Linked DNA regions of Homo sapiens: all the other regions are linked to region 4. The links are contacts of gene promoters, found by promoter capture Hi-C in blood cells and fetal thymus (Javierre and others, 2016). All regions are on one chromosome and are shown on one strand. Each heading gives the region's core, a stretch centred on a gene start or on the middle of the fragment in contact. The rest is flanking DNA. Distances are from core to core; before and after follow the strand shown.

Region 1 (2,700 bases), core at 155-2,654, 350 kb after region 4:
CCCCTCCCAAATCTCATGTCCTTCTCACTTTGCAAAACCCAATCATGCCTTCCCAACAGTTCCTCAAAGTCTTGACTTTTTTCCAGCATGACCTCAAAAATCCAAAGTCTCATCTGAGACAAGGCAAGTCCCTTCTGCTCATGAGCCTGGAAAATAACAAACAAGTTAGTTATTTTCAAGATACAATGGAGGTACAGGCATTGAGTAAATACTTCCATTCCAAAAGGGAGAAATTGGCCAAAAGAAAGGGGCTACAGGCCCCATGCAAGTCTGAAACCCAGCAGGGCAGTCATTAAATCTTAAAGCTCCAGAATAATCTCCTTTGACTCTAAGTCTCACATTCAGGACACAGTGATGCAAGGGGTAGGCTCACAAGGCCTTGGGCAGCTCTGCTCCTGTGGCTTTGCAGGATTCAGCCCCTGTGGCTGCTCTCAAGGGCTGGTGTTGAATGTGTATGGCTTTTCCAGGTGCAGGGTGCAAGCTGCCAGTGGATCTACCATTCTGGGGTCTGGAGGACAGTGGCCCTCTTCTCACTGCTCCACTAGGCAGTGCTCCAGTGGGGACACTGTGTAGGGGCTCCAATCTTACATTTCCCCTCTACACTGCCCTAATGGAGGCTCTCCATAAGGGCTCTATCCCTGCAGCAGACTTCTGCCTGGACATCCGGGCTTTTCTATATATCCTCTGAAATCTAGGCGGAGGCTCCTGAGCCTCATTCACTCTTACACTCTGTGTACCCACAGGCTTAACACTACATGGAAGCTACCAAGGCTTATGGCTTACATCCTCCAGAGCAGTGGCCTGAGCTATACCTGGGCCCCTTTGAGCCATGGCTAGAGCTGGAGCTGCTGGGATGCAGGGAGCAGTTCTCATGGCTGTGCAGGGCAGCTGGGCCTGATCCACAAAACCTTTCAGTCTTACTAGGCCTTTGGGCCTGTGATGAGAAGGGCTGCCATGAAGTTCTCTGAAATACTATCGAGGCCTTTTCCCCATTGTCTTGGCTATCAGCACTTGTCTTTCTTTTAGCTTGAATTGCTCTCCTGAAAATGGGCTTTTCTTTTCTGCCACATGGCCAGGATGCAAATTTTCTAAACTTTGGAAACTCTGCTTTTCTTTTATAAAAAAGTTCAAATTACAGGTCATTTCTTTGCTTACACATGTGAGCAGCCAGGCCATGTCTTGAATACTTCACTGCTTAGAAATTTCTTCCATCAGATACCCTAAATCATCACTTTGAAGTTCAAAGTTCCACAGATCCATAGAGCAAGGACACATTGCAGCCAGGCTGTTTGCTAAAGCATAGCTTTACTCCAATTCTCGGTAACTTTCCCGTATTCACCTGAGACCTCCTCAGCTTGGACTTCATTGTCCATATCACTATCAGCATTTTGGTCACAACAATTCAAGTCTCTAGGAAGTTCCAAACTTTTCCCTCATCTTCCTGTTTTCTTCTGAGCCCTCCAAACTGTTCCAACCTCTGCCTGTTATCCAGTTTCAAAGCTGCTTCCACATTTTCAGGTATCATAGCAATGCCCCTTTTCTTGGTACTAATTTTCTGTGTTAGTCCATTCTTGAATTTCTATAAAGAAATACCTGAGACTCGGTAATTTATAAAGAAAAGAGGTTTAATTGGCTCACAGTTCTGCAGGCTGTACAGGAAGCATAGTGGCTTCTGCTTCTGGGAAGGCCTTAGGAAACTTACAATCATGGCAGAAGTCAGAATGAAAACAGGCACATCTTACATGGCCAAGATATGGAGTGAGAGTTGGGGAGGGAGGTACCACACACTTTTAAATGAGCAGATTTCACCAGAACTCACTCATTCACTATCATGAAAACAGCACCAAGAGGGAAATGTGCCCCCATGATTGAGTCACCTCCCACCAGGCACCACCTCTAACATTTAGGATACAGTTTGACATGAGATTTGGGGATACAGATCCAAACCATAACAAAATCCAATTTGATTATGTTGCATGTGGATATTCAGTTTTCTGAGCATCATTTGTGGAAGAGATTATCCTTCCCTGATGTATGTGTATTCTTGGTACCCTTGCCAAAGATCAGTTAACTGTTTATCTGTGGGTTTATTTCTGGGCTCTATATTCTGTTCCACTGGTCTATAAATCTGTTTTAATGCCATTGCTGTACTGTTAAAGTTACTGTAAATTCGTAATAAATTTAGAAATCAGGAAGTATGATGCCTCCAAATTTGTTCTTTCTAAAGTTTGTGTTTGACTATTTGGAGTCCTTTGTTGTTCCATATGAATGTTAGGATTTTTAAAAAAATTTTTGTAGAAAATACCATTAGGATTTTAGTAGGGATTGCATTGTGTCTGCAGATTGCTTTGGATAGTATGGATATTTTACCAGTAGTAGGTCTTTCAATCCATGAACATGGGCTTTCTTCCCCTTTATTTGTGTTTTCTTCAATTTCTTTTATTAATCTTATGTAGTTCTCAGTGTAGAAATATTTTATCTCTTTGGTTAAGTTTATTCCTAAGCATTTTATTCTTTTTGATGCTATTGCACATGGGACCCAGCAATCTCACTTCCGAGTATATATCCAAACACATGCACACGTATGTTTATTGTGGCACTACTCACAATAGCAAAGACTTGGAACCAAGCCATATGTCCAACAATGATAGACTGGATTAAGAAAATGTGGCACATATACAGCATGGAATACTATGCAGC
Region 2 (2,700 bases), core at 61-2,560, 380 kb after region 4:
AGCCCCCTCTTATGTGTACTAATAGCATTGTATGCCTCCTTTACATTGTAATTGCCAGTTTGCTACAGGAAGGATGATGAAATATTGTTCATCATCTAGCACCTAGCCCAGTGCCTGGCAGAGTTATACAAGATGTACTCAAGTATTTTTTGAACAAAATTAATGAATAAAATGACTTGTAGAAAGAGCCTTCCAATTACACTTGCTTTCTTACCTTTAAATAGCCACCTCTTTAAAAAAAATAAAACACGGCCAAGCATGGTGGCTCATGCCTGTAATCCCAGCAGTTTGGAAGGCCAAGGTGGGCGGATCACCTGAAGTCAGGAGTTCGAGACCAGCCTGGCTAACATGGTGAAACCCTGTCTCTACTAAAAATACAAAAATTAGCTGGGCATGGTGGCGTGTGCCTGTAATCCCAGCTACTCAGGAGGCTGAGGCAGGAGAATTGCTTGAACCGAGGGGACAGAGGTTGCAGTGAGCCGAGATTGCACCATTGCACTCCAGCCTGGTCAATAAGAGCGAAACTCCATCTCAAAATTAATAAATATATTAAATAAAACACAACAAACAAAATAGAACTCTTCTCCAGGGGCTTGTCTTTAAATCTGGCATTGCTCAGTGACCTTGGGGAAGCCTCTTTAGACATCTGAGTCCTGGAACAGTTCTATCTGAGAGCTTCTGTCCAGCTCTAGAATTCTTTAAATCTGTGGTAATAGCACAAAATGGGTATCGAGTACATTTTAAGGACACTCAGAGTTTCCCTTATGCTTATGTTTTTTCCTGTTGATGAGAAAATGTCATCATGTTGCTTGGATTTGTAGGTTCTTTCCTAGTTGTGGGGAATTTTTCCAAGCTGGCTATTATGAGAGGGTCTCAAAAAAAAACCACAAAGAAGTTTGGTATATTATGTTCAAATTACACACAGTATCCCTTCTTATTTTCACTTTTGATCTGGATTTTCACTTCTGAGCTGACTTCTATAATTTATATTTAAAGAATTTAGTCTCAGAAATAAGGTCATTTGATGCTTGCATCATTGACACTCCTAAACCTTTCTTGCATTCCAAATCGGAAACTTATTCAGGACTTCTAATTCTGATGGTTTCTTTCTTTCTTTCATATATTTATAGATGAAATATATATATATATATATACACAGATAAGACTATATCTATATGTAAATACAGATACTTAAAATATATATGTATATATTTTAATCGTGGTAAAATATGTAACAGAAAAATTACCATCTTAACCATGTTTAAGTACACAGGTCATTGGCATTAAATACATTCATGTTGTTGTGCACCCATCACCATCATCCATCTCTGGAATCTTTTCATTTTGCAAAACAGAAACTCTGTCCTCATTAAACAACAACTCCCCATTCCCTCCTCCCCCCAGCTCCCCTGAAAACCATCATTGTACTTTCTGTTTCTTTGAATTTGACTATTCTAGGTACCTCAAATAAGTGAAACCCTACAGTATTTGTCCTTTTGTGACTGGCTTATTTCACTTAGCACAATGTCCTCAAGGTTCGTCTAATGTTGTAGGATTACAACAACATTGTAGCATTGACATGATTTCTTTGCTTTTTAAGGCTGAATAATATTCCGCCATGTAGATATGCCACATTTTATATATCCATGTGATGGACACGGGTTGATGGACACAGGTTGCTCTCATGTTTTGGCTGTTGTGAATAATGCTGTTAGGGACGTGGGTGTACAAATACCTGTTTTAGTTCCTGCTTTCAGTTCCTTTGGATCAAATAAGTTATTGATCCTTCTCTATTGACGCTTCTGTTTTCATGGACTCTTGCCTTACTCTTTTGATCATTTACTGTTCCTCCCCCCATCGACCTTTGGGCCATTTTTCTGGTAATGTCCCTACTATCAAGGTTCTCATACTTCAGTTGGACCTCACAGAACTGCTGCCTGGAGAAAACAGTTTGACAGCTAAAAAAAAAAATATGATTCATTATCACCTCCTACACACACACCAATTCCTACTGTTTTCTGAAGGTATACCAGTGGTTCCTAAATTAAAAAAAATCTCTTGGTCATAGGGCAAATTTTTGTAGCTATCGATACTCTGTATTTTGAAATTTAACTGTTGATAATAGTAGCTTCTTGATGTATTAGTCCTCTAATTGTGAAACTGTTATCTGTTTCTTATTATGAAAACAATATATGACAATCACAGAAAATTTGTAAGGTGTAGAAAAGTATTACACACAATGGCACTACCTAAAAGCAACAACTATTAACATTCTGATGCATAGGCTTCCAGTCTCTTTCATGTAAATTTTTACATAGTAAAGATCACATTGTTTTGCACCTTCTTCTTTGCATTTAATAATAAATATAAGAATTTCTGGCTGGGTGTGGTAGTTCATACCTGAGTAGCTGGGAGATTGAGATGGGAGGATAGTCTGAGCCCAGGAGTTCGAGGTTACAGTGAGCTATGATTGTACCATTGCACTCCCCCTGAAGACCCCATCTCAAAAAAAAAAAAAATTTCTTGTTCAAAAGTATTTGCAAATATTTTCATGATTTTATAAAGCTGAGAAATATTTAGAGGGTGGTAATTAGCATAAATAGAATTTTTCCAGTTATAAAAACAATATATTACAGAAAATGCCAACCATCTCAAGATTATAAAGAAGTAATAAAAAATCTAATGTCTCCGTCTGCCCTT
Region 3 (2,700 bases), core at 130-2,629, 420 kb after region 4:
CCCAAGCTGGAGTGCAGTGGCACAATCTCGGCTCAATGCAACCTCTGCCTCCTGGGTTCAAGCAATTCTCCTGCCTCAGCCTCCCAATTAGCTTGGATTACAGGCACGCGCCACCACGCCCAGGTAGTTGTGTATTTTTAGTACAGACGGGGTTTCACCCTATTGGTCAGGCTGGTCTCGAACTCCTGACCTCAGGTGATCCACCCACCTCGGCCTCCCAAGGTGCTGGGATTACAGGTGTGAGCCACCACGCCCAGCCTGTATAGACACTTTCCTCTTTTTTTTTTTTTTTTTTTGAGACGGAGCCTTGCTCTGTCACCCAGGCTGGAGTGCAGTGGCGCAGTCTCGGCTCACTGCAAACTCCACCTCCCGGGTTCATGCCATTCTCCTGCCTCAGCCTCCCAAGTAGCTAAGACTACAGGTGCCCGCCACCACGCCCGGCTAATTTTTTGTATTTTTAGTAGAGACGGGGTTTTACCATGTTAGCCAGGATGGTCTCGATCTCCTGACCTCGTGATCTGCCCGTCTCGGCCTCCCAAAGTGCTGGGATTACAGGCTTGAGCCACCATGCCCGGCCTGTATAGACACTTTCTATCCCACTTTTAAAACAGGCATGTTCTCCCTATGCTTTAAAATGCCTTTAAAATATTTCTAATGGTGCTAATTCTCTAATTTGGGAGTGTCTAATTTGCTTCCAGTTTTTAAAAACTATTTTTTATTATAGTAATTAACCTTTTAAATACATGAATCTTGGGCATATTTTTAATGATTTCCTTAGGAGAGATTCCTTACAGTGAATTTCTTGAGTAAAAGGAGGTTAACTGTAAGATTCTTGATATACCTTGCTAAATTGTTTTCTAGAAAGCTTGAACCAAGTTCTGCACATTTTAGCAAAGTATGAAATGTCCTTCTCTCCATATCTTCATCAGCATTGAGTGTTCTCTCTTTTTTATCTTTAGACAAAAAGGTTACATTCTTTTTGGTTCATCTACTCAGAAGCTATTTAATGAATGTTCACTCCATGTCAGGCATGTGGCATGTTTTCATCTCTACCAGTAACGCTGAACTTTCTTCTTGTGTGCATCAGCCTGTTGTTTTCTTTTGTAAATGTTCTGTTCGTGTCCATTATCAACTTTTCTACTAGGGTGTGACTGTTTCTATGATATATTTATAACGATGTGTGTGTGTGTGTGTGTGTGTATACGATATTTGGGGTAAATACTTTTCCCAGCTTCTTTGACTTTTAATTTTGCTTATACTTTATTGGAAATACAGAACCTTTATTTTATTATTATTATTATACTTTAAGTTCTGGGATACATGGGCAGAACGTGCAGGTTTGTTACATAGGTATAAACGTGCCATGGTGGTTTGCTGCACCCATCAAACCACCATCTACATTAGGTATTTCTCCTAATGCTATCCCTCCCATAGTCCGCCACCCACCAACAGGCCCTGGTGTGTGATGTTCTGCTCCCTGTGTCCATGTGTTCTCATGAGAACCTTTATATTTTATGTAGTGGAGTAAGTTATTTTATCTTTTTTTTTTTCCTGTGTAACTTCTGTTACCTCAGGCTTAGGAATTCCTTCCTACCCAGAAGTTAGAAAATATTCATCTATTTTTTTTTAAAGTTTCATTTTTAACATTAAACTCACCAAATTAGAAGTAAGATGTGGCCAGGCACAGTGGCTCACACCTGTAATCTCAGTGCTTTGCGGGGGCTAAGGTGGAAAAATCACTTGAGGCTAGGAGTTCAAGACAAGCCTGGGTAACACAGTGAGACCCCACCTCTACCAAAAAATTTAAAAATTAGGCAGGCATGGTAGCATGTGTCTGTAGTCCTAGCTGCTTGGGAGGCTGAGGTGGGAGGATCACTTCAGCCCAGAAGCTTGAGGCTGTAGTTAGCTATTATCATGCTATTGCATTCCAGCCTAGGCAACAGAGCAAGAACCCTGTGTCTTTAAAAAAAAAAAAAAAAAAAGTGTGAAACAAAGATCCAAATGGACTTTGTTTCACAAAGTAAATCCCCCATCATGTTTTGAGTCATGTATCTTTCCCTATTTAATTTGTGGTGCTTCCTTTATTTTATATTTCAAGACTTTTTGCTATTATATCCAGCGGTAGGAGCCCATGAACTTGTTGGATATTGGTATGCACAGAAGATGCGGTAATACTTTTTTCCAATATTTTATTATGAAAAATACACTGGCTAGATTCTATAATTAATATTCTGTCACTTTACCATCTATTCACGTAATAATTCTTAAACTTCTCAAATCATTATTTGAATTTCAAAGTGGACTATCAAAGACATTTTCTCTAACCCTATTTTTCTCTAATTTGCAGTTTTGATTTCCAGGAAGCCTTTAGCAATTTATATTGTTAGTACAGTAAGAGAGTAAACAACACACTAAAATACCAAGAGAAACTACTTTCCAAAACATGTTTTAGTCGTTTAACTTTATGAATATGGCTAGCAAGGGGGCTTCCTGGGGGACAGTGCTGGGGAAAGAGCAGGCCCTAGGAATGGGCTTTGAAAGAAGACTTTTGCCACCGTCAGGTCACATTTGCAAGAGGCCATCGTCGTGGTCTGCCAGGGAACCCTTAGCAGAAAGGCTGCTTTGCCCAGGATCTGGCTTGCCGCCCCAGACCAGCCCTACCGCTGTCTGGCATTGAATGTCCCTGGTCCGCAGTGAGTG
Region 4 (2,700 bases), core at 133-2,632:
AATTTCTCAAATACAGATGGAAAACTTACTTGAGTATGCTTCACAGATCTAGTCACTTTTTTGTTTAGTAAAATACTCAGTAAAATATATTATTCATTAATTTGTTTCGTTCATAAAATCGTTTCGGTCCTGTGAGATGGTTAGAGGGACAACTAGCACTTTTCTTCAGGATCTGCACAGATCTTAACCCTTTACTAAGCCAGTTCCTCCACTAGCATGTAAAATTGGAGTTAGATCTGCTCCTCCTTTCAAAGATAAGCCAAAGATAAATAAGATACTATGTAAGAGTATTTTCAGCATTTCAGAAGGAATTTGCTAGAGAAAAAAACACCACCAACAAAAACCTAACAATGCAACTGAATTTTTTTAACACCTAAATCAGGGATCAAGACAAAGCCGGTGTTGAAAATCAAATTCATTAAAGCCAGATGTTTCTATGTTTGAGTTTCCGGACTGGGAAACGTGTCTGTGTCCATACAAACCCATCTTCTAATGAGCCGTAATACTGAAATTCTTCGGTAACGTCCCTCCTTCCCACTCCCTATCTTTTTCAGAACTTCCAGGCATTAAAGACAACGTCTGCCAATCCTACAAGTTCTCCCCGCCTGCTAGGATTCAGATGGATTCCACAACTTTTCAGCCTTCCGTGACTTTTAACACTACTCTAGAGCTAATCACTTTTAATGACCCCACTCTGGAATAGACACTCCTCGGCTTTACACTTTGTCCCGGCAGCAATCGACTGAACTGTCCCCCGACGCCGACCACCTCGGACGACCTCAGACATTCGGGGTAGTTTGCCCGCGGGCAGGGCCCCGCCAACTCCGATTCCTGCCCCAGAGCCGTCCGCCCCCCAAGCCCTCCTCAACCTCAACCCCCAAATCCCAAGCGCAGAACCGCTGGGCTTCCGGTTCTCCTGTGCGCGCCCCGGATCCGCCACACACCTCGCCCCTTCTCCCTGGGCTCGCTCTCCGGACCCTAACCCCTTCCCGAGCGAGGCCGAGCAACGCTCTCAGCAGCTGAACTAAGACTCCGGAGGCCGCACGTCCCCCTCAGCAGGCCCCGCCTGGGCCTCTCGGCTCGGCTGCCCTCCATTGCACCCCTGGCCCAACCGTGCTGACGCGGAAGGGTGGGGCAGCACGAGCTCAAGGCCCGGCACTTACTCGGGAAGGTAGGTGGAGGAAAAGGAGCTCCACTTGTGTAGCGCGTAGGGGAGAAGCCGGCACTCGGGCGCCGCAGCGACAGCTCCGCCAGCCGCCATCTTGTCAGCACCGTAGCGGCCGCCACCGACCGCTGGCAGCGAACGGGAGGAGGGGAGGGGGCGTGGCCTGCTCTTAAAGGGGCCGCCGCCCTCCCCGGCCGCCCGCGCTCCCCGCCCCGCATCGTTACCCGAGCCCAGCGCCGGGCCAATGTCCTATCTCAGGGTTTCCCACGTCGCTCGCTCCTTGACGGCTGACCGACACTGGGTCTGAGGTGTAAGCGCTTTCCAGGCCCTTCCCTGGGGCTTGGAGGGGAATGGCGCAAAGGACTTTTCTTACAAGCAGAGGTAAGGAAAAGCCGAGATGATTACGAACAGAAACACGTTGTAGTTATGGAGCAGGAAGGGAAAATAAGAAGACCAAGTTGGAAAAGGGACGCCTGTGCGCTTTTGGAAGCCACCGCCCTCGCCAGTTTATAAGTCCTTTACGGAAACAACACTGAAGGGAGCTGGAGGGCAGTAGCTAATGTGCTGTCCTCCTGGAGTGGTCCTGGTTTTAAATGTCTTGTCCCCGCCTTCCAGAGTCAGATGGAGACAGGAAAAGGAAATGGTCCCGTGTCCTCCTACCCTGTTTGGTTTGCAGTCTGTGATGCCCTTCATTGTAAACATTTCTTGTGAGCCGCATCCTACTAATCTTGTGGCATTGGTTTGCTCGGGAATGACGTTCACCCACAGACCTGAAAAGTCCTTACAGAGTTGGGAAGCTGCGTGTCATCATTTTTTCAGTTGGCAAATCTGCCCACTTTGAACTGACATAATTGTAGCCTAAAAGTTCAGAGAGAGAGTAGTTCAGGAAAAAGACTATTCCTTCTTCTTAGAGGGAACAGCAGCCCTGAAAACTATGTGGACATCATACCAGCTTCTTACAACAAAAGGTGCACTTGGTCTAAATTATCTGGCAGCTCTAGATAACGTTCTCATCAAGTACCTGTTTGTTGTAGTTATGCATATTTATTCCTTGGCTTAGCCACTGCAGTTACCAAAGAGTATGTCGCTTATTGTCTAAGAGGTTGGACTCCTGAAAGCCTGGACAGTGTCATCATCTTCACCTGAAGAGTGGAAAAATTCAAGCAAAGAGTTTCTCAGGAAATGACCAAGTGAGTCAAAACACCTCAATAATTGTATTCTCTTCCCGTTGTAATCATTAACCTGCCGAAATTCCCTCCAGTCCTTTCCTGACTTCCTGTTTCTATAGATGGAAATTTTAATAGTGGGCTCTACTAGGATATCAAATCAAAAAAGCCAGATAGAAAGGCCAGGCCCGGCACGGTGGCTCACACCTGTAATCCCAGCACGTTGGGAGGCTGAGGTGGGTGGATCACCTGAGGTCAGGAGTTCGAAACCAGCGTGGCCAACATGGTGAAACCCCGTCTCTACTAAAAATACAAAAGTTAGCTGCGTGTGGTGACATACACCTATAATCTCAGCTACTTGGGAGGCCG
Region 5 (2,700 bases), core at 53-2,552, 340 kb after region 4:
TTGGAAGTAGATTCATATTCTGTATCATGGAACACAGGCCACTTCTTACTGCCACTTTAAAACTTGTCAGATGAGGCTGGGTGTGGTGGCTCACGCCTGTAATCCCAGCACTTTGGGAAGCCGAGGTGGGTAGATCACTTGAGGTCAGGAGTTGGAAACCAGCCTGGCCAATATGGCGAAAACCTGTCTCTCCTAAAAATACACATACACAAAAAATTAGCAGAGCATGGTGGTGCATACCTGTAATCCCAGCTACTCGGGAGACGGAGGTGGGAGAATCACTTGAACCTGGGAGGCAGAGGTTGCAGTGAGCCAAGATTGCACCCCTGCACTCCAGCCTGGGCAACAGAACGAGACTCCGCCTCAAAAAAAAAAAAAAAAAAGAAAAAGAAAAGAAAAGAAAAGAAAAGAAAATGGGCTAGGGCCACGCACGGTGGCTCATGCCTGTAATCCCAGCACTATGGGAGGCCGAGGCAGGAGGATTGCCTGAGCCCAGGAGTTTGAGACCAGCCTGGCCAACATGGTAAAACCTCCTCTCTGCTAAAAATACAAAAAAAAGAAAAAAAAATTAGCCGAGCATGGTGATGTGTGCCTGTAGTCCTAGCTACTTGGGAGGCTGAGGCAGGAGAATCATTTGAACCTGGGAGGCGGAGGTTGCAGTGAGCCGAGATCGCGCCACTGCAACTCCAGCCTGGGTGACAGAACGAGACTACATCTCAAAAACAAACAAACAAAAAAAAAGTGTCAGATGAAGTCAATATGCAATCTGTGCTTGGCCAATTTGCTGCACCATCCTGCCTTTTTTCCATTTTATAAATACAGCATTTTATAGAAAAGATCTGCTAAAATCAGTTTTAAGATCTGATTTATGAATTGTTGTCAGACCACAAGATGTCTGCTTATGTTTCTAAAACTATATCTTGAAGCTATTTTTTTTTTAAGTCTCATGAAATAAAGACCTTCCTTCACTCCTCCTAGACTATGGTGCTCTCATGCTAGAGAAGGTCCACTGTGTTTCTCTCTGTAGTAACACAACGAAACGGGGCTGGCAGTTCACACGCACATGACCCTGACACCCACGGTGTGGAGGCTGCAGGCTCCTTCTTTAGGCCTTGCCCCTACGGCAGCCCGGGTTGGCCTTGGTGTCCAAAGAGTCCAGAAACCATTCTGTTGTCCCTCAGGGCAGTAGTCCAGGATAGAAAGTGGGACTAAAGGAACCAGGCTGCTGGGGAGGTGAGTTTGGCAGTGTGCTGATAGGCCCCACTTTGGGGAAGAATGGGGAGACAGCAAGGACAGCCGGGATGTGCCGGTACTGAGTCGGTGCCCTATGCAGCAGCAGAGCCCAGCTCTGTGGCTCGGGTGTTGGTTCCATTGTCGGAGGGAAAGGTGCTGATGTGCCTGATGGTGATCATTCTGAATAGTAATGAGCGTTGTTAGCAATGGCTCTGTAGTTCCCAGATGTATTCGCCTACATGTCACGCCCCTGAGAAGCCCTAGTCAAATGGCCCTTGATGGAAGTGACCCCAGAGCCCAAACATGTCATGTCTTGAAGTAGGTTGTTGCCTTGGGTGTTAGAGTGTGAGAAAATGAACAAATGGTAAAATAAAACTTCCCAGCCATCTCGGTGGCTCATGCCTGTAATCCCAGCACTTTGGGAGGCCAAGGCGGGTGGATCACCTGAGGTTGGGAGTTCAAGACCAGCCTGAGCAACATGGAGAAACCCCATCTCTACTAAAAACACAAAATTAGCCGGGCGTGGTGGAGAATCACTTGAACCCAGGAGTTGGAGGTTGCAGTGAGCCGAGATTACACCACTACACTCCAGTCTGGGCAACAAGAGTGAAACTCCGTCTAAAATCAATCAATCAATCAATCTTCCCTTATTGGTACTAATTAGTAATTAAGGTAAAGTCTTGTCTGAATTAGGGAAAGTTTGGAGACTCACTTCACTTTCTGATATTCAGCGTTCTAACATAAAGGCTTATAAAGTGTTGCTGGGTAGTTTTGCCAGTAGAGGCCCCTGTGCTTGTTTTAATGATACAGAGTTATTCCAAACTGCAGTGAAATGCTGTGGACACATTTTCTGCAGGCGTCTCAGTAACTTTGAAAGATGGTTTTTAGTATAAAAACTTAGACTTTATTTACACTGCTAAATACTGACATATATATGAGTAAAAGCAAAATATTGGGACTGTTTCTAAACAGCTAAATAACAATAAATGGATTGTTAAACATACATAAAATAACCTTAATGAAGGCCACAGTAATTCATGTCTGTGTAGAATAAGTTCATTGAAATCAACATTCCTCTCAGTATCAGAGTTCCTTCTACAGTATGCATAGCAGATGATAATTTAGGCATCATCATCTCTCTCTTTACCCACCTCCCCTCTTCTTCCTTCCTCCCATCATCCAGTGCATGCTGTATCCAGGTCACTATGGTCAGCACTGAGGATACACAGGGAAATAGCATGTGGTCCTGCCCTCAGAGACCTGACAGTCTAGATATTTACAGCAGAGGGAGATGGTGCAGGGGAGAAGTACGCTGAGCGGGCGAGAAGCAGGCTAGCCACTCTGCTTGGAGGAGAGAGAGCACAAGATTCACAGAGGAGGTTGGGTTTTCAAGTTTGCAGGGATGGCCCAGAAATGAAAAGCGTTGTAGGCACAGACCATGTGATGCTTGCAGTCGTGAAGCTGTCT
Region 6 (2,500 bases), core at 1-2,500, 400 kb after region 4:
CATTGACTGAAATGTTATGCTGCACATGACTGTATATTGAGCGAATAACAGACTCATTGTGTTCTCTGTGATCGCTTCCGAATGGCGAGAGGGCCAGGGCCAAAGGGCACAGACCTGTGAGTGTGTTATGGACTCATGTGGGTTTAGCCTTCACGATATATATGAATATATCATAATGTGTGTATCTAGTGTGTGAATATATATCATAACTTATCCACTTTATGGATATCATAATTTATCCATTTTAGTGATTCCAGGACATTTTGTCTATCTATGCTTTTTTTTTTTTTTTTTTTTTTTTGAAATGGAGTCTCACTCTGTCACCCAGGCTGGAGTGCAAGTGGCACAATCTTGGGTCACTGCAGCCTCTGCCTCCCCAGTTCAAGCGATTCTCCTGCCTCAGCCTCCTGAGTAGCTAGGACTACAGGCACATGCTACCACACCCGGCTAATCTTCGTATTTTTAGTAGAGATGGGGTTTCACCATGTTGCTGGTCTCAAACTCCTGACTTCAAGTGACCTGCCCGCCTCAACCTCCCAAAGTGCTGAGATTACAGGCATGAGCCACCGTGCCTGCCCTCTAGCTATGCTTTAAGGCAGGCCTATCAGCCCAGACTGGAGTCATGTAATACATGGCTCTGTCAGTAGCTCTCCTTCCCACAAATAAGTTTTGATGATCTTACACTCATCCCTGCCATTAGCATTCAGGACCAATCTTCTATAGCCTATACGCCACACTGGTCTAGGACAGCACCTAAATAATACTCATGCTATAAAAAATTCATCAAGTTATATATTTTTAAAAACATCCCTAAAATTATCTTTTTCCTTTACTGAAAAGAATTTCAGGATCCCCTCTCTCTCACTGCCTCTCTTCACACACACCTACCTTAGTTGGTCACCTATTTTGTAAACATATCTTCTTTAAAAAAAGAAAGAAATGGCAGTACATGAAAAACTGCTTCGTAAACAGAAACTATATTATTTATATTTGTAGCATTTTTTTCCCCTTGAGGTTAATTTCCTTTGCTTCCCATAACTGGAAGCCAATGATTCAGTGCCATTATATAAGCTTATTTTCCCTCTTGGAAATAGTAAATTATAAGAGGTTTGACCCAAAAATATACATCAAAATTAGGCAGTATTCGGTGTTTAGCCTCCATCTGCCTTGTCTTCTTGTCTTTAGTTGTGCAAGTAGATGCTGATGATTTCTGGCAGAGCTAAAGTAAGTAAATCATGTGAATTTATTTTTTTTCCTCATAAAACAGATGGCATGGTCTAGCTCTGGGCTTGTATGTTTCATGAAGTACATGGGTCTGAGTGCGTATTTATTTTGTGAGCCAAGGTTTATGCCTTCTTCTATAATTTTCTTTCACCGAAAATTACCTGGAGAGCTAGAAACTCCATTTGTGTCAGTGTAAGAAGCTTTAGAATCTATATCCAGACCAAGGCCATGGAACAATGTAGATTCACTCAGTAAAAACTCACTAGCGGCCTTCTTTGTACTAGTCTGTCACCTTTGCTTGGCTTTGGGAAGCTTCAAACTAGGGCAGTTTATGTTTGGGAGTGACCAGTCAAATAGCAAGACAGACATAGGCAAGGATGTAATTTTTAAAAATTTAAGTGGGGAATGGTGAAGCATGAATCAAAACAGAAGGTAGTCTTACCTTCTTGGAACTGTAAAATAAATACATTTGAAAAAGGCACCCTCTCAACCTTCTGCGAGTCAGAATTTTTGCTGCCACCCCTCATTTTGAATCTCTATTCTGCATTTTTTATTCTTTTTTTTAGGAAGGAGGAAGAAAAATTTCTCCTGAAGAATTCATTGGAAATTAAAATTAACTTGCGTATTTTGTATTCTTTGGAATGTGATGAAGACTGATTTGAAAGGGCAGTGCTGGATTTGGTCAGGCATAGGAAAGGAAGACATGCAGTCGTCCTGCCTAGCTCATCCCCGCCACGATGGAGAAGTGGGGTTGCTTTCGTTGTACTTTTTTTCATTTGTTTCTTGCCAAGCCCAGTGGCTTCTGTTATAACATGTGGCAGCTTCTCCCTTGGAGACTGATTCAGTCCAAGTTACCATAATATTTAGGACCAGCTACAGAGACGTTTCTTCCCCTAAACCCATGCCAAATCTAAATCAAACTATCTTCTTCTCCTTAGCCGTTCAAATAGCTCCAGCTCTTATATAAAAATACGAGAAATACACAGGCCTCTTTTCGTTTTATTCCTGTTCAAACAGATAAACAAACAAGGCACATCATGCCTAGGTTGCTTTGAGCTTGATCACTTCCTCCTAAAGCAGTCTTACGCTGTGTTGATTTTAAGAATTGCAACTTAGGTGTTCTAGAACATATTCTGAGAGCATAGTCATAGTCTGTGATCTCAGAATATGTTTGCTTCCTTCTAGAACATCTGAGTTCTAGAAATTGCGTACAATAAACTGCTGTCAGTGCTGCTGGAGGAAGGAAGAGTAACTCTGACATCACTGGCCTTCAACA
Region 7 (2,773 bases), core at 193-2,692, 470 kb after region 4:
TTGATGTGCATAGTTAGATTGTTTATTTGGAGTCTCTATTTTTTAAAAATGTGGATATTTACTGCTATAAAATTCCATGTTAGTACTACTTTTTCTGTATCCTATAGATTCTTGTATGTTTTGTTTCCATTTTTATTTTTTTCAAGAAATTTCTAAATTTCCTTCTTAATTTCTTCACTGACCAACCGGTTGTCTGGAAACATGTTGTTTAATTTCCATGTATTTGTACAGTTTTTAACATTCCTCATTTTATTGACTTATAGTTTTACTCTATTGTGGTCAGAAAAGATACTTGATATAATTTCCACTTTTTTGTATTTGTTGAGACTTGTTTCATGGTCCAACATATAGTCTGTCCTGGAGAATGTTCCATGTGCTGATGAAGAATGCGTATTCTGTAGCAGTTGGGTGAAATATTCTGTAAATGTCTGTTAGGTCCATTTGGTGTACAGTTTCACTCTGATGTTTCTTTGTTGATTTTCTGCCTGAATGATCTTTCCATTGTCAAAAGTAGGATGCTGAAATCCCCTCTTACTGCTGCATTGCAGTCTATCTCTCCCTTCAGATCTATTAATATTTGCTTTGTATATTTGGGTACTCTGGTGTTGGGTGTGTATATATTTACTATTGTTATATCCTCTAGCTGAATTGACCTCTTAATCATTATATAATAACCCTATTTATCTCTTTTTACAGTTTTTAATTTAAAGTCTATTTTAGCTCATATAGTTACTCCTGCTCTTTTTTGGTTTCCATTGCATGGGATATCATCTTTCTATCCCTTCACTTTCAGTCTATGTGTATCTTTACAGGTGAATTGAGTTTCTTGTAGACAGCATATTGTTGGGTCTTGTTTTTTAATCCATGCAGCTACTCTTTGTTTTTTTAATTGGAGAATTCAGTCCATTTACATTCAATGTTACTATTGATAGATAAGGCCTTACTGCCATACTGTTACTTGTTTACTAGCTGTAGGTAACTCCTCTCTTCCTTTCTTTGTCTTTCTTTGTGGTTAAGTGATTTTTCTCTGGTAGTATGTTTTGTTACTTTTTATTTTTAGTCTATCTGTTATAGGTTTTAGCTTTGTAGTTACCGTTAAGCTTACAAAACAAATCCTACAGTTATAACAGGTATTTAAAACTGATGCCAACTTAATTTTGATCATAAAAAAGCAAAGAAACAACCCAAACAGGTTAACTCCCTTCTTCCTCCACATTTACAGTTTTTGATGTCACCAATTACCCTTTTTTATTGCCTGTCTCTTAACAAATTATTTTCAAAATTATTTTAATAGTTTTGACTTTCAGTCTTTTGGCCAAAGATATAAGTGGTTTATCACAATTACAATATTACTATAATAATTACGTTAGAGTCCTTTTCTTTCAGTTTGAAGAATTTCCTTTAGCATTTTTTGTGGGACAGTTCTGGTTGCTATAAATATAAAGTCCGTCTGGGATAGTCTTTATCTCTCCATTTCTGAAGAACTTTTTTTGATACAGTATTCTTGGTTGGCCATTTTTTTCCTACAACACTCTGAATATTATCATCTCCCTCCTGGCCTGAAAAGTTTCTGCTGAGAAGTCTGATGCCAGGAGTATTGGATCTCCCTTATATGTTATTTGCCTCTTTTCTCTTGCTGCTTTTAGAATCCTCTCTTTGTCTTTCATTTTTGCAAGTTCGATGTAATATGTCTTGGGATATTCTTATTTGGGTTGAATCTGATTGGTGATCTTTGATCTTCCTGGCTTTGGTATTTGTATCTTTCTCCAGGGTTGGAAAGCTTTCTATTATTTCTCTGAAGAAGCTTTCTACCCCTTTGTCTTTCTCAGTTCCCTCTTTAACTCCAATAATGAATATTTTCTTTTTTGATGTTGTCTCATACATATTGTAAGCTTTTTTCATTATTTTTATTCCTTTTTTTTTCCTCTGTGTATATCCAAATAATCTGTCACTGATTACTTCTGCCATTGATGCTCTATATTGCATTTTTCATTTCATTCATTGTATTTTTCAGCTCCAGGATTTTTTGATTTTTAAAATTTTTTCAATGTCTCTATTAAATTTTTCTGATACATTTCTGAATTGATTTTCTGTTTTCTGGAATTTCATTGAGTCTCCTTAAAGCAGCTATTTTGAATTATTTGTATGAGAGATCACACATCTCTATCACTGTAGGGTTGGTCGCTGGCACCTTGTTTTACCTCATTTGTGAGGTCATATTTCCCTGAATGTTTTTGATGCCTGTAGAAGTACAACAATGTCTACATATTTAGGAATTAGGTATTTATTTTAGTCTTTGCATTCTGGCTTTGTTTGTGCCTGTCCTTCAGAGGGCCTTTCGGATTCTAAGCTGACTGACTGTTGTGTTCCCTGAGCCTGTGACCACTGCAGCCAGATATCTCAGCACTAGAGGACACTCCAAGCCCAGGCTTGCCGTGAGTTTCATGAGGACTCTGAGGTTGACATGGCTTTCCAGCCCAGATGGACCTAGAGAAGACCCCAGGCAGATACTGGACTGAGGGACCTGAGTCCAGAAAACTGTCCTTGTGGCCCAGACAAGTGTGTCTCCCAGCAGATCTCTGCATTTCTCAACTGCAGCAAGAGGAGATGGAGTTGAGACTGGACCACTTCAGGATCAGCTGTGAGAAGGAGCTGGTGGGCCTATCTCATTGTCTCAGATGAACATGCATCACCCAGCTGGTCCCTGTATGAGTGGGGTAGTTCCTAGACTGAAGCAGTAGGGGCTAGAGCTGAGACTGGGCCCCATGGAATG

What was found. Contacts are between HindIII fragments. The CHiCAGO score rates a contact against its expected background, and 5 or more counts as called.
Region 1: a fragment that was not itself captured here is called in contact with the fragment with the promoter of MKLN1-AS in region 4 in 2 of 17 cell types (naive B cells and total CD8 T cells); the score reaches 5.6 in naive B cells.
Region 2: a contact is called between a fragment that was not itself captured here and the fragment with the promoter of MKLN1-AS in region 4, in 6 of 17 cell types (naive B cells, total B cells, total CD8 T cells and 3 more). The highest score is 7.2, in naive B cells.
Region 3: a contact is called between a fragment that was not itself captured here and the fragment with the promoter of MKLN1-AS in region 4, in 4 of 17 cell types (naive CD4 T cells, total CD8 T cells, neutrophils and 1 more). The highest score is 8.6, in naive CD4 T cells.
Region 5: a fragment that was not itself captured here is called in contact with the fragment with the promoter of MKLN1-AS in region 4 in 6 of 17 cell types (neutrophils, naive B cells, total CD4 T cells and 3 more); the score reaches 8.1 in neutrophils.
Region 6: a contact is called between a fragment that was not itself captured here and the fragment with the promoter of MKLN1-AS in region 4, in 5 of 17 cell types (naive B cells, total B cells, naive CD4 T cells and 2 more). The highest score is 9.7, in naive B cells.
Region 7: a contact is called between a fragment that was not itself captured here and the fragment with the promoter of MKLN1-AS in region 4, in 6 of 17 cell types (activated CD4 T cells, total B cells, neutrophils and 3 more). The highest score is 8.7, in activated CD4 T cells.

Annotation. Positions count from the first base shown.
Region 1 is chr7:130,972,939-130,975,638 of GRCh38, reverse strand. The region is part of intron 5 of LINC-PINT (long intergenic non-protein coding RNA, p53 induced transcript); the gene reads left to right. Among named protein-coding and RNA genes, the nearest start is that of LINC00513, 61 kb to the right of the region's middle. The HindIII fragment of the contact is 4,557 bases long and covers 1-2,700 here.
Region 2 is chr7:130,947,117-130,949,816 of GRCh38, reverse strand. All of the region lies in intron 5 of LINC-PINT (long intergenic non-protein coding RNA, p53 induced transcript), which reads left to right. Among named protein-coding and RNA genes, the nearest start is that of LINC00513, 35 kb to the right of the region's middle. The HindIII fragment of the contact is 2,796 bases long and covers 1-2,700 here.
Region 3 is chr7:130,905,951-130,908,650 of GRCh38, reverse strand. All of the region lies in intron 6 of LINC-PINT (long intergenic non-protein coding RNA, p53 induced transcript), which reads left to right. Among named protein-coding and RNA genes, the nearest start is that of LINC00513, 6.2 kb to the left of the region's middle. The HindIII fragment of the contact is 1,024 bases long and covers 868-1,891 here.
Region 4 is chr7:131,326,461-131,329,160 of GRCh38, reverse strand. MKLN1-AS (MKLN1 antisense RNA) reads left to right here and starts at 1,382. Exons shown (of 6, transcript NR_125364.1): 1 at 1,382-1,546; 2 at 2,226-2,355. MKLN1 (muskelin 1) reads right to left here and starts at 1,285. Exons shown (of 18, transcript NM_013255.5): 1 at 1,164-1,285. The coding sequence starts at 1,261. RefSeq lists enhancers at 367-943, 950-1,249, 944-1,520 and a silencer at 1,300-1,459. The HindIII fragment of the contact is 3,998 bases long and covers 1-2,700 here.
Region 5 is chr7:130,990,614-130,993,313 of GRCh38, reverse strand. The region is part of intron 3 of LINC-PINT (long intergenic non-protein coding RNA, p53 induced transcript); the gene reads left to right. Among named protein-coding and RNA genes, the nearest start is that of LINC00513, 78 kb to the right of the region's middle. The HindIII fragment of the contact is 7,473 bases long and covers 1-2,700 here.
Region 6 is chr7:130,930,386-130,932,885 of GRCh38, reverse strand. All of the region lies in intron 6 of LINC-PINT (long intergenic non-protein coding RNA, p53 induced transcript), which reads left to right. Among named protein-coding and RNA genes, the nearest start is that of LINC00513, 18 kb to the right of the region's middle. The HindIII fragment of the contact is 353 bases long and covers 1,074-1,426 here.
Region 7 is chr7:130,856,248-130,859,020 of GRCh38, reverse strand. No RefSeq gene overlaps it. Among named protein-coding and RNA genes, the nearest start is that of MIR29A, 19 kb to the left of the region's middle. The HindIII fragment of the contact is 680 bases long and covers 1,103-1,782 here.